Linked DNA regions of Homo sapiens: all the other regions are linked to region 1. The links are contacts of gene promoters, found by promoter capture Hi-C in blood cells and fetal thymus (Javierre and others, 2016). All regions are on one chromosome and are shown on one strand. The core of a region is centred on a gene start or on the middle of the fragment in contact, and the rest is flanking DNA. Distances in the headings are between cores, read along the strand shown. Region 1 holds the start of PER2 (period circadian regulator 2). Region 2 has its middle 12 kb from the start of RAB17-DT. Region 3 overlaps LRRFIP1 (LRR binding FLII interacting protein 1).

Region 1 (4,470 bases), core at 1,062-3,561:
GAGGCCGGTGAGGGTTCAGCACGGCAGCTCACTCTGTCTTGGGAACTACCAGTCTCTGAAAACCAAGTGGCCTTGACTCCTGTCACCAGTCACTGCTATTCATTTACTGCTTCTAATTTGCTCTAGACTTGGAGATATGGTAACAAACTTGTTACAAATGTGTACACGATGAGCATAATGAGTTGAAAGGAGGGCCTGGTCCCTAGGGGGGAGTGCGTGGGCTGGGGGAGGGGTCCATCAGAGGCCCCCTCTAGACTAATTCTCCCTTGGTTCCCAAGGTGGGCCAGCTTTCCAGAAGTGTGGCGACAGTCTCTGCCAAGCTTATGGAATTGTGTGTTTCTGGCTCCCTCTGCCAAACAGAGTAGTTTTCAAAAGGTAAAAGCACACCCAGAGCCTGTCTTTCTTCTGACTAAACGCCAAGTGGCCCTGCCAGCTGTTCAATGACCTGACAGAGCCGTGGTTTGCCGAGTCCTGGTGAAGTTACATCATCGCTTAAAAACAGCAGTGTGACTACCAGTATTTTTGAGAAAGTTCAGTGGGTACGAGAAGTAGTGCACAGGAGAGGAATCTTTCCTTTTTCCTTGTAAGCACTGCAGACGTGGCTCACAGGAGAACATTACTTGGCCCAAAGGCAAGAGCATATCAGAAGCCTCTGTCTCCTGCGAGAAACCTGGGAAAAATCATCTGTAGGGTAACAGAAAACCAAAAACCTGGGAATTAAAGTAGACCTCTGAGACTGCCCAATCTGAGCCCCTCCAAACAAACAAGGAAACTGAGGCCCAGACTGGGAGCCAGCAGCAGCCAGCTGGCTGACACAGGGCTCCCCCTTCCCACCTGGCACTCCAGTCTCCACAGAAAGCCAGGGCTGCGTTAGTTCTGTACCAATGAATCATACCAAGGCGACAGTGACAGATAACTGCAAACACCCACGGTGCCATCCCCGCGCTGGCACACCACACAGCTTCCACTCAAAAAAAACGGAGTCCCTTTCTTCATTATAGTCATATAGCACACAAAAATCAATTCACCTTGTATTTTAAAACTCAATTTCCAAATAAAGCCTTCAGGTAGAGTCCTGTTTTCTTCTCAGGCACACCCAGCCTGGGACCAGAAGCCCCAGGTGGGGGTAGAGGGTGGGCCAAGAAGTCTAGCAGTCCTGCTGTGCCATATACAGGTGAGAGGCGTCCATGTGGGGCTTTAGCCACCGTGTGGGGTTCTTAACACATTTCCCGGACTTAAGGCCCTTCCTCCCAAATTCCAGCCCACCCAGGATTCAGCACGCAAGTGGAGGCCATCACTGAACCTCTGAAGCTCATCCTGCCCCAGGACGATGGGAAGATCCTGCAGACAGCCTGGGCCTGGGCCTCAGTTTGCTCATCTGTCAGGCTGAGGGGTTACTCTGGGTGATTTTCAGGGTGCCTTCTGGCTCTGTTGTTCTGTATGAATCAGCTTTCCAAACGGGTTCCTTCTGTGTAGGTTACAGAAACCCTGGCAACCAACTCGTCATCCCTTACCCTGGCCTTCCTGAAGGGGGAAGCAGGCCACCTCCCACCCCCTGGTCTATGTCTGGGACTTGGCAGCCAAAGTACATCCCAGAAGGTAGGCGCGACTGCTGCACCAAAGAGTGGACACCCCCATTCCCTTCTATCCAGTCCGGGGAAAGGGAATTAATACAGGGTGGTCCAGGGGAGGCAAAGGGGCGAACATTAGAGGGTCTCCCCGCCCTCAGGTTCCCAGGCCTGGCTTGGCACCGGGACTTCCTTGTCCCTCTGATCACCCATTCCAGGAGACCCGTGGGTGTCCAGGAAAAGCTCCTAGATCAGCGCCCCTCCATGGCCCTTCCCCAGCCCAGGACTTAGCCCTGTGGCCTCAGAAGAGGCAGTCAGCTCCCCGAGGGTCCTCCAGATCCCAGGGCCGGCTGCGCTGACCCTTGGTTTCCTTGGCCTTCCCCATGCGAGGGGAGGGAGGGTTCCCAAAAGAGAATCGCCCACGGAACCGCAGCCCGCGCGCAGTCACTCGGTAGCTCGGTGCCCTACACACGCTGCCTCACCTTTCGGACCTCAGGCTCCTGAGCTGCGAAGCGGGGGTTCGAGTCCCCAACCCTCGGTGTCACCGCAGTTCAAACGAGCGCACCCTGCGCGCGGCTCGACCACTCTCCACCTGGGACAGGGCCAAGGGCACACGCCCCCACGCCGGCGCCGTTTCAAGCCGAGGAGTCCAGCAGCCCAAGGAACTTCCGGCGGCGCCTCCGCTGCCCGAGCCGGCGCTGGGACCCCGACCTGCCCGAGGCCCGCGCGCCGGCGGCGGTTACGTAAGCCGCAGCGGGGCCGCGCCGCGCCACTTACCGCCGGCCGCGCCCGCGTCAGCCCGTCCGCCGGTCCCTCCGCCGACTCGCGGCTCTGTCCGCCCGGCCCCGCGCCCGCCGCCGCCGCCCACAGCTGCACGTATCCCCTCAGCGCCGCCGCCTCCGCCGCGGCCGAGTCGCCGCTGTCACATAGTGGAAAACGTGACCGCGCGCGCCGCGCCCGCCCCCGGCCTCCGCCATTGGCCGCGACTCCGTCTCATCTGCATACATGAGGGGCGGGGCCTACGAACGCCGCGCGCCCATTGGTGGCCGCGCCCGTCGCTCTTTTTACATAAGACGCACATGGAACTCCATGTTCACCTCGTCGGTTCCTCAATGGAGACGCGGCGCGTTCGTGCTACCCGTCGTCCTCCCTAGTGGTCTCATCCACTTCCGGCGTCGGCGCCTTCCATTCACTACGCCCTCAAGCCCGCCAGCTCGGGGAGCGCGGAGTGGCGCGTACCATTGCGGGCGGGGGAGCTGGGCGCGGGGCTCCTGCGCACCTCCGGCCGGCCTGGCAGACCCGGCGCGCCGAAGCCGGACGAGGGAGACCTCCACCTCCGGCCACCGGCCAGAGGCGCGCCCCCAGCGGCCAGGGCCGCGGGAAAGTCCGCGCGGCATGCTTCATTCACGCATTCACATTCATTCATTTACTCATTCACTCACTCATTCATCGCGGGGCCCCGGAGCAGCCCAGGAGAAGGTGGCAGCACCGCCCTGCAGCAGCTCCGGGGGCACGCCCACCCGGGCCTCTGAGGTGCCTGTGGTCGACACTTGTCCCGGCAGCTACCAAGTGACCTTTCTTATTTTTGAGACCACGTGTTGCAATTTTTGGTTCAGGAAATAGAGTCATTGTTACTCTGGGGAGGTACAAAAGAAAGAAATGATGTTGTCCCTGCCCCCAAGCGCATCACTAGGGAGAAAGGACTATCTCATAAAAAGGAAACTTAATCAAATGCTAAATTGGGCGATGTGGGCTATAAATTAACCAGAGCTATCCCCACAGGCTCCGTGAGAAAGGCAGCACTTCCAAGGCGGGTAAGATGGGCCCTGAGAAAGGGACGCCTTACAACGGTGCAAGCCGTAGAGACGCAGGAGCCAGGGGTAGGAGGTTGTCCTGGGAGACAGCGCGGGACCCTGCATCACCTTGTTTCGGTAAGCATTGTGTGGGGCATGTGGAGCCTCTAAACTTCCATTTAAAGTGTCAGGAGAAAGAGTACAATTTCCCCGGGTCTGGGTAGAAGCCTGAGACTTACAGGACAGGAAGGAGCTTTCAGGCTCCCACGCAGCAGGCTCTGAATGTGTAGGCTCTCATGGGGAAGGCGAGACTGTCCAAGAAGCTGGAGCCCGCAGCATCTCTCTTTACTCTTCTTGTTCTTCTTTACCTGGACTCACCTGGGGACCAGGGATGGGACAGAAGGAAAAGTTATGAACCCACATCAGGAATTCCTGAGTGTGATAACTCCTTCTCTTCTACTTGACAAGGTGTGTGTGCAACTTCTCAGATGCAAACCAGGGCAAATACCAAGTTCATCGGGGCAGCCCTTCCCACAGAAGCCCCGGGAGGCCTGCATGCTGTTCACACACTCAGTCAGGTGGCCCCTCCTCCTGTTCCTCTGACATTGACACCTCGACACACTCCCCGCCCCCTCTCCCTAACACATACACACACAAATGCCAAGCAAACCCAGGCCCGGCTGCTGCGCCCTGCACACACCCAAAGGCTCTTTTGTTTCTTCCCTCCCATTGACGTCAATGGGGAGCTCCATTGTTCTGGAAACAAGAGTAAACAGACAGCTCATCCACACCTTACCGAGATTCTTCTTCATGCTTTTGCTGGGTCTTGCTCCATATTCAGCCTGCTACCTGATGTCACATTTCCTCCCTAAATGTAGCCTTTTTTATTTCCACCAATAAATCTGGTAGAAATATATTGAAATCAATTCTTTTAGAAATTATCAAGTGCTTTGGGCTCTAGGACTCTTCAGAATCTCATCTATTTTCAGTGATTCACAGCCAGTTTCTTCTTTCCTATTATTGGAAATTTGTGTACACTCCACAAATACTTGTTGACACCTGAGTGTTGAGGGGCATGCAAAAATACATCTCACTGCATCCCTGCTTGT
Region 2 (4,470 bases), core at 665-3,164, 690 kb before region 1:
GCTTGTCTTTTATCCCTTGAAGACTATCCCCCAGCCATCCTCTCACCCTGCACAGAGGTCACCAGGTCTATGGTAAAGAGCCAGGAAAGAGGTCGGGCAGTCCTGGGTTCAAACCCAAGGTCCAGTGCTGACTGGCAGTGAGTGTGGTCATGTAAGCTCATCTCTAAACCTCAGTCTCCCCCTTTCAGAGAGGAAATAATATTCCTTGGTTTTTAAGGTTATCGTGGAGGCTAGAGCCTGGCACGTGACAGGTGAGTGTGTGATAAACTGTGTTCCTTACCTTTGCAGTCACTGTCAATCGTCATCGTTTAATGAGTGAGCATTTCAGAGGCCCTTCAGTCTGCACGGGACTCTGTGGTTGCTGGAGCCCTGGACCTGGGGCTCACCTTCCCCGACTGACTGAGGCCCGACTACCGTCCTCTAATCTGGGTTGCTATTTCCTGCCCTTCTGGACTCTGGACATAACTTCCTTTGCCTAATACATAGAGCAGTCCTGTTCCTCCTAGCCTTGGCAGCTATCACTGGCCACCTATCTTAACCAGCTTGGCTTTGGCCAGCTACCCCCAGGATCCCTCCTCTGGGCGACTCCCCAAGCTGCTCAAGTCCTGCCTGGCCCAAGACTTGGTAGCCCTACACTCAGCTGACGTGCTGCCACTCTCCACTGCCCCCTGACTAGCATGAAAGCCACTGCGGAACCTGCAACATTCAAGCTATCAAAGGGGTCACATTCCAAAGCACTGCTTTGTCTCTCCACTGAGGTGATAAGCTGCAGGACTTAACTGGAGGTGAGGTGCACGGGGGTGGGAGCCGCAGACCAGGCCCTGCAGTTTACATGGGCAAGTCCTTCACGGCCCCTCGGGGCCTCCATTGATGGATTCCTCCAGGACCACACTGATGGTCCCTTCCAATCCTGCTGGTCGCCTAAGTGCAGAGCATGCTCCCCAGACAAGGGTTCTCTTCTCCTTTCCTTCAAGAACAGGACCTGCGTCTTGAGGTCTTCTGTCTTTCTCAAGATATCTAAATAGTAGCTGATGAACCACATCACATTTGTTGACTTAAAATCAAGGAATATGGAAAGGTATCATTTATTAAGTGCTTATTACACTCCCTGCCCAGTGTTTATGTAAATTATAAAATGACCAACTCTGATGTTCATATATATATATATGTATATATTTTTTCATCCACAGTTTCTGGCTCATAGCTCCACTTAGCCCTTGTTACAGTTTTCTGTTATAATGTTGGATGTGCTAATCCTGGGCGCCACCCTCAGGTAACAGAACCTCTCTGACCCTCTCGCCTTCCTTTTTCCTGCCACAAGGCAGGACTCTAACCTTCCCTCACTTTTCTGACTGTAGGTCTTAACAGCCTCCCCTGGGAGGGTCCCGCCTCATACCATGCGGGAAGGAATTCTGTCAACATGAAGCTTCCATAAAAACCCAAGAGGACTGGGTTCAGGGAGCCGTGGAGAGCTGACTTTGTGGAGGTTCCCAGAGGATGATGTGTCCAGGGAGGGCTTGGAAGCTCCCTGCCCCTTCCCCCATACTTCGCACTACGCATCTCTTCATCTGTGTCCTTTGTAACATCCTTTACAATAAGCCAGCAAACATAGTTATTTCCCTGAGTTCAGTGAGCTGCTCCAGCAAATTGATCAACACAGAGAGGAGGTCATGGGAACCCCAACTTGAAGCCCATCCGTCAGAAGTTCGAGAGGCCCAGGCTTATGACTGGTGTCTGGGGTGGGTGGCAGTCGTGGGGACTGAGCCCCCCACCCAGTGGGATCTGGTGCTATCTCCAGGTGGACAGTGTTAGAATTGAACACCCAGCTGGGGCCCACTGCTTAATGTGTGGGGAAACCCCCACGCCTTTTATTGCAGACGTCTTCTGTGTTGATGATTGTGGAGGTGGTGGTGGAGTGAAAGAGGAAAAACGCAGTTTGAGAGAGTTTTTCCATACACACCAACAAACCAGGGAGGTGGATATTGTTATCCCCATTTTACGGATGAGAAAATTGAGGCTCAGAGAGATTAAGTACATTCCCCAGAGTTACGTAGCTATCGAACAAGGATTCAAATCCACAACTTTCTTAACCTACCCCACAGAGGCAAATGCAAAAACCAAACCATAAGAGGGAGGAAATAATGACCTCTGCAAATGAAAGCCACCTGTATATCAAGAAAAGCATATGGATAAAACAAAATGCTGGGACAATAACTGCCACAAACATGTGGCTTTAAAATCCTTGATTTATAAATCAGCAAAAAATGGACAAAGGCACAGCCAGACAATTCGCTGAAAGTGAGTCCCAGGTGTGCAGGCAGCGCTAGCAGGAGCGTTCGGCCTCACCAGCACGTGCAGGAGCCGGTCAGCATGGAGGTCAGATTGGCAAAGCCTCATCACATCCAAGCTTTGGCAAAACAGTAGAGACTGTCCACCAACCGTTGCTGAGACTGTCTGGCAGTGCAGTTTTCTGAGAGGGCAAACCTGGGATGCGTAGCAATGAATTCAACAACACAGCCTTTGACTCGGCAACTGCACGTCAAGAAACGGAACTGTCAGGAAGCATCTAGAACCCAGAGGGCAGAATCCAGGAAATGACTCTGTTCCGGAGTTCATCTGTTGCTCTGGGCTACACTTGATGCTACGGTAAAATCACTCACCCTCACATCCAGCCAGCGGCAACACACACAATGAAAACCGTTCTGAAAAAGCAAAGCTGAGAGCCCCGGGAAGATGCAGGAGGTGTGGGTGGGGGTTGGAATTCAGCTCGGTTTAGATAAACAACTGAGACCCGAGATGTTGATCTCTAAGGATTATCTCAGCCCCGACCTATTTCAACTTCCTTGTCTTCTTTCTTTGGCTCCTTACTTTTCATTGAAATTCCCTGACTGGCCCACTAAGAACCAGGCTCTGGCCAGCACGGTGGCTCACTCTGTAAGCCCAGCACTTTGGGAGCCTGAGGCGAGAGGATGGCTTGAGGCCAGGGGCTCGAGACCAGCCTGGGCAACATAGTGAGATCCCCCCAATCAATTTTTTTTTTTTTTTAAAAACACCCTTTTTTTTTTTTAATTAGCTGCCAGCTACTTGGCAGGCTAAGGGAGGAGGATCCTTTAAGCCCAGGAGTTCAAAGTTGCAGTGAGCTATGATCGTGCCACTGCACTCCAGCCTGGGCAACAGAGCAAGACTCTGTCTATAAAATATATGTATATATATTATAGAAATTTTTAAAAGAACCAAGCTCTGGAATGGACTTGCTCCAGCACCTGGCCCATCCCAAGCCTGGAGGCTCACTGGAGGAGGCCACATGGGGTCCACTCCATGTGCAGCAAGCACACCGAGGCCACAGGCTGCTGGGCCCACCTCCCCACCTCCCCACCGTGGGCGAAGTACGTGGAGGATGTGAGGGAGGTTCTCAAGTGAGATGCTCACTCACAGTTATCCCCAAAGGACGGTCCAAACATGTGGAAAACATGTCTCCCGTAGAAAATGGAGAAACGGCCGGGTGTGGTGGCTCACGACTGTAATCCCAGCTTTGGGAGGCCGAGGCGGGTGGATCACCTGAGGTCAGGAGTTCAAGACCAGCCTGGCCAATATGGCGAAACCCCGTATCTACTAAAAATACAAAAATTAGCCAGGTGTGGTGGCACGTGCCTGTAATCCCACCTACTCAGGAGGCTGAGGCAGGAGAATCGCTTGAACCCAGGAGGCCAAGGTTGCGGTGAGCCGAGATCATGCCACTGCACTCCAGCCTGTGTGACAGAGTTAGACTCCGTCTCAAAAGAAAAAAAAGAAAGAAAGCGGAGAAACAATGCTGCCCCCAGCCCTGTGTGTGACTTTGCCAGGGCTACTGTAACCACCTATCACAACCTGAGTGGCCTAAACAATAGGAACTGATTGTCTCGCAGTCCTGGAGGCCAGAAGCCCGAGAAGAGGCCAGAAGGTGGCAGGGCAGCTCCTCCTGGAAGCTCTGCAGAGAATCTGTTCCATACTCCCGGTGCTTCGCTGGGAATTCTTGGTGTTCCTTGGCTTGTGGAAGCATCACTATCGCCGCCTTCATGTCACATGGCATGTGTGTGTCTGCGTGTCTAAATTTACCCTTTTCATAAGGACATGGTCATATTGGTTTAGGGCCTATCCTGGTGACCTCACCATAGAGACCTTCTCCCCAGGTAAGATTACATTCTGAGGTATGGAGGTTAGGACTTGGACATATGAATTCTAGAGAGAGACAGTTCAACCCATAATGCCTTAGATGTCATAAATATTCATGACAAGGTCAGCCTTTTGTGGAGATTTGTCTCTGTGAAAAGCAAATTGGTTGGCCAGGCACAGTAGCTCAGGTCTGTAATCACAGGACTTTGGGAGGCCAAGGGGGAAAGATCACTTGAGCCTAGGAGTTTGAAACCAGCCTGGGCAACATAGACAGATCTTGTCTCTACAAAAAAAAAAAAATACAAAAATTAGCTGGGA
Region 3 (4,470 bases), core at 1,007-3,506, 630 kb before region 1:
CATAAAGGACTGGTCAAACCTGTTGCCATCCATACAAGGAGTGCCACGAGCTCCTGTGCACCTGTGGAAGGAGCTCTGAGCTAGATTGTTTAGCAAGAAAAGCTTCAACACACAAGTTCAGTGAAAAAAGCAAGGGCAGAACAGCGCACGGTGCTACATGTCTGTGGCAGAAAAAGGGAGAAAAGCATGCGTTTTTGAGTTTATATATTCCATCACCTTCAATATACAGCGTCGGGACACCTGACCACCTGCAGGACCCACTGTCATCCTGGGAGAGGGAGGAGGAAGCTCTCGGATCTCCTCTTGTGAAAGAGGCGAGATTATTGCTCAGCCTGGCTCCAGAGGCACGCAGTCCCTGTGCCCCGAGAAACTAACATGCCATCTCTGCTCTCCCACCGCTTCCTGGGTTGGGCTGCGGGGAGAGGCCTTGCTACAGTGGGTGCCTCATCAGCACTGTGAACAAACAGGGAAGGATATCTGGGGCCACGCAGGGAGACCCTGGGGGATCCTGGGCAGAAGCCCCTGAAGTGATTGAGCTGTTTCCTGGGCCCTCTGATGATTCTCCCTCTGCCTTGGAGGCTTGGCTTCCCCTGGCTGCTGCTAATTCTGGAGGACACAGTGGGGTGGGCCACATAATGGAGGCTGGACTGTGTGTCCAGTCCACCCAGATGCCACCATGCCTGCCAGTCCCTCTCCTCCTTAGAGCACAAGCCCTCTGATGCTCCCAGACAGTGGAAACTTTTTGTTCCCCAAAGCCCTCCAGCTGGCCGGGCTGCCCTCCCCAGACTCCCTCCTTCCTTCCAGATGTGAGCAAATCCCTTTCCTTCCACCTCGCTCTCGGCCCCTGGTTCACCTTCTGTTCCTGCCCAGGGCAAACTGCCCTATGTGCATCTCTGTCCTCATCCATGAAACCATCCTTGTCCTCACTGTCGATGGAATTTTTCAGTGATACCTAACATCTGTCCCAGAGCCATGCACGTTCCGAAAGCACATTCCAGGGGGACAGTTGTGTCCCTGGTGCAACACGGGAGTGGGCACACATTCTCTGTGCTGTGCATGGGGACAGCTCCAGGAAGAGAGAGGGCACTGTTTTCCTGTTTCCTGAGTCAATCCGCTGTAGTTCTGTGGCCCAGCTGAGTGGCATAGGCTCTCCTGACCCAGGTACCTATCAGCCCCCAAAATAGGTGTTGCCATGATTCCTTTGGACAAAATGTAAAATCTGGCTGAAGACTGAGTCCTCGTGCACCTAGCGTGACCCATGACAGCATGCAGGTGTTGGTCTGTAGGGATGCCATAACAAAGTGCCACAAACTGGGTGACTTAAAATAACAGAACTGTATTCTCTCACAGTTCCGGAGACCGGAAGTCCAAAGTCGAGGTATTGGGCCAGGTGGGTTCCTTCTGGAGGCTCTGAGGGGAAGGTGTTCCAGGCGTCTCTCCAGCTTCTGGTGCTGCTGGCAGCCCTCGGCCCTCTGGCTTGTAGACACATCACACCAGGCTCTGCCTCCGTCTCCACGTGGCCCCCTCCCTGGGTATTTGTGTCTCTGTGTGCAAATTTCTGTTTCCTTATAAGAAAGTCATTGAATGAGGGCCCACCCTAATCTAGTACGACCTCATCTTAACTTGATTGTACACGCAAAAAGCCTATGTCCAAATAAGGCCCCATCCACGGGTTCTGGGTGGACATGAACTTTTGGGGGATGTTACTGAACGCAGTGCAGGGTTCTTACATTCTCACCATCACGTATATGATTTTATTCTTCAGGGTGCTAAGGTGTGGTGTGTGCCATGTGCTCTTAACCCCTTAGAAAAGATAAGGACAATTTTTTTTTCAGGTCCAATGTCTGAATGTATTTTTTTTCTTTCTCTTAGGATTTGAAGATATATAACAATATGTCATAAACTGACCTGAAATCCTTGTTTGTTCCGCAGCGAAATCCATTAATAATCCCTATAACTGGGACAGTTTTATGTTCCCATTCTCGGTGTGGCTATTTATAGTGAAACCTCACTTTCCCTGTGTTGGTTAACATTAAAAACTGGAACTGCTTCTGAGGTAGGAGGCGGGACTTGACTCCAGAGGCGGGGCTTGGACACTGGGCCAGATTGAGGACTAGCTAAAACAGGCCCGGTGGGGAAAGCAGTCTTCAATCAGACACGCCCACCAGCGCTATGTCAATTTACCGTTGCCATGACGGCACCCAGGCATTACCGCTCCTTTCCACGGCAATGACCCAGTGATTACTACCTCTTCCTTGCATAAACCGCTCCTTAATCTGCATGCAATTACAAGTGAGTATAAACAGGACTGCAAAACTGCCCTGAGGTGCTGCTCTCTGCCTGCGGGGTAGCCCTGCCCTGCGGGAGCCGGCAGGGAGCTGGAACACTGACACTTCAGTAAAGCTGTTTTCTTCTACCTATGACTTGCCCTTGAATTCTTTCCTGAGCAAGGCCAAGAACCCAGATGGGCTAAGCTCCACTTTAGGGCTCGCCTGCCCTGCATCAGTTTAACTAAACTATTAGAATTTTTAGTTTAAAAGAAATGAGTAAGATTGTGAGCATTCTGTGAGATGCGGAGTGAAAGAAGGTGCTGTAGTCTGAACGTTTGTGTCTCCCCTAAATTCATGTATAGAAATCCTAACCACCAAGCTGACTGTATTAGGAGGTGGGAGCTTTTAGGAGGTGATTAGGGCATGAGAGTAAATGAGATTAGTGCCCTTATAAAACAAACCCGGGGAGTTCTTTCCCCCCCCATCCCGCCATGTGAGGACACAATGGGAAGGGGGCCCTCACCCCTTCTATGAACAAGAAAGGGGGCCCTCCCCAGACACTGAATCTGCTGGCACCTTGATCTTGGGCTTCACAGCCTCTGGAACTGGGGGAAGTTAATTTCTGTTGTTTATAAGCCACCTAGTCTATGCCCTTCTGCTACAGCAGCCTAAACAGCTCAGCCTTAATGGACGAGGCACATGGAATGACTTCCGGGCCTCTGACAGGGTGCTTGGGGAGGATGGTGTGATGTTGCGTTATCACTCACAGACACTGTGGAACTGACTGGGTTGGTGGAGCGGGGACCCGGGGAAGAGTTCAGTTCTGTTCTGGGAATGTTGCCTTGAGGCAGCTGAGCACTACCCACAGGGAAAGGTCTGGCAAAGGTTCACGTGCATTCGCCTGGGCCATAGGGGAGAGGGGAGCCGTCAGCGGTCAGGGTGGTCAAAGCCACATAGTTGCATGAGGTCTCCTAAGTAGGTCAGTGGAGCAGAGTACCCAGGGTGGAGCCCCGGGAACCTCAGAAACAAGGAAGGGGTGAGCAGAGGAAGGGTCGCCCTCAGGGCACTGGGAGGGAGGAGCAGGGTGAAGGGTGGGGGCAGAGGGGAAACAGCCATGTCCATGCTGCAGAGAGACCCAAGGGAGACCCGGGGAAGAATGTCACTTGCACCTTGCAAAAGGGAGGGTCCTGGCGGCCTCAGCCAGAGCCGTTTTAGTGAAGTCATGGGGAGAAGGACCACAGAGGCTTAGTCCTGGCTGGGGCCGCAGTGGGACTGGCAGTGGAGAGGAGGGGGCCCAAGCCAGGGAGATTGAGTTCTTGGCAAAGAGGCCGGCGGCGTTCTCCACTGCGTTTCCATCCGCAGGTGCGCCTGCCGCCTGGCCTGTCCACAGTGTGCTGGTTGCTGGTATTCAGTTCTGGATTGTACCTCTGACTGGACTGAGGTCCATCAGCAAATGACGGGGCCTCGGCGGTGTGGCAGTGTGTTCAGCTGCTGGCATGCCGCCTCGGGAACAGAAAAGTCACGTTGTTGTGTATGCGGGTAACAGCTCCAGGGAGGCGTGAAGAGAACTTCCTGGCAAGGAGTGCTGCTCCAAGACTGAATGGACTTTTTTTGAAGTGCAAGGGTCTGGCCTCTGGAAGGGTGTTTTTGCTGCCACCTTTGAACTTCTCTGTGAGTTTTTAAATTTTGAGCAAATCGCCTTTTATAATCATTCTATATGTACTTTTTCTACCCAACGGCTGCATAGTGTTCTCTTCCCACAGCTGATGTACTTAAGCCCCATCCTTCTCTGGTATAAAGAACGTTGCGATGAACATCCACTGGCAATCATCTTCCTACTCATCTTTGATTGTTGCTAGAAGGGAAATTGCTGGGTTCAAAGGATGCTGACCACTTGTTAAGACTCCTGGAGCACCCAGATTTCCATCCTTCTTAATCTCGTGTTCCATTACATTGCAGAATGTAGTGACAGCCAAGAATTTCCATTCATAAAACTCAATGTAGGGTTTTCTTTGGAAGCTAACAAATGACTTCAGGCTTGTCATCAGACCATTGCACTGTGCTGACTCTGAAGAATTTGTAAGTTCTTCACATCACTTTAAGAATACTTATAATTTTACTTATTCATGAAAGCATTTAAATAAGCTTCTTACTATTAAATAATTTCTTATTGTGAAATAAACCATTTACTTCATTAACT

The links. The method cuts DNA at HindIII sites, captures the fragments that hold promoters and counts their contacts. A CHiCAGO score of 5 or more calls a contact.
Region 2: a contact is called between a fragment that was not itself captured here and the fragment with the promoter of PER2 in region 1, in 1 of 17 cell types (total B cells). The highest score is 6.5, in total B cells.
Region 3: a fragment that was not itself captured here is called in contact with the fragment with the promoter of PER2 in region 1 in 1 of 17 cell types (neutrophils); the score reaches 5.7 in neutrophils.

The regions. Positions count from the first base shown.
Region 1 is chr2:238,286,299-238,290,768 of GRCh38, forward strand. It overlaps PER2 (period circadian regulator 2), which reads right to left and starts at 2,312. Exons shown (of 23, transcript NM_022817.3): 1 at 2,051-2,312. LOC112268433 (a long non-coding RNA gene) reads left to right here and starts at 1,571. Exons shown (of 3, transcript XR_002959458.2): 1 at 1,571-1,599. RefSeq lists enhancers at 1,250-1,772, 1,857-2,751, 3,826-3,875 and silencers at 2,300-2,449, 2,790-3,059. The HindIII fragment of the contact is 4,985 bases long and covers 319-4,470 here.
Region 2 is chr2:237,601,227-237,605,696 of GRCh38, forward strand. No RefSeq gene overlaps it. Among named protein-coding and RNA genes, the nearest start is that of RAB17-DT, 12 kb to the left of the region's middle. RefSeq lists an enhancer at 2,867-3,370 and a silencer at 3,022-3,202. The HindIII fragment of the contact is 981 bases long and covers 1,425-2,405 here.
Region 3 is chr2:237,660,684-237,665,153 of GRCh38, forward strand. The region is part of intron 1 of LRRFIP1 (LRR binding FLII interacting protein 1); the gene reads left to right. Among named protein-coding and RNA genes, the nearest start is that of LRRFIP1, 35 kb to the left of the region's middle. RefSeq lists enhancers at 2,000-2,541, 3,528-4,096. The HindIII fragment of the contact is 4,313 bases long and covers 101-4,413 here.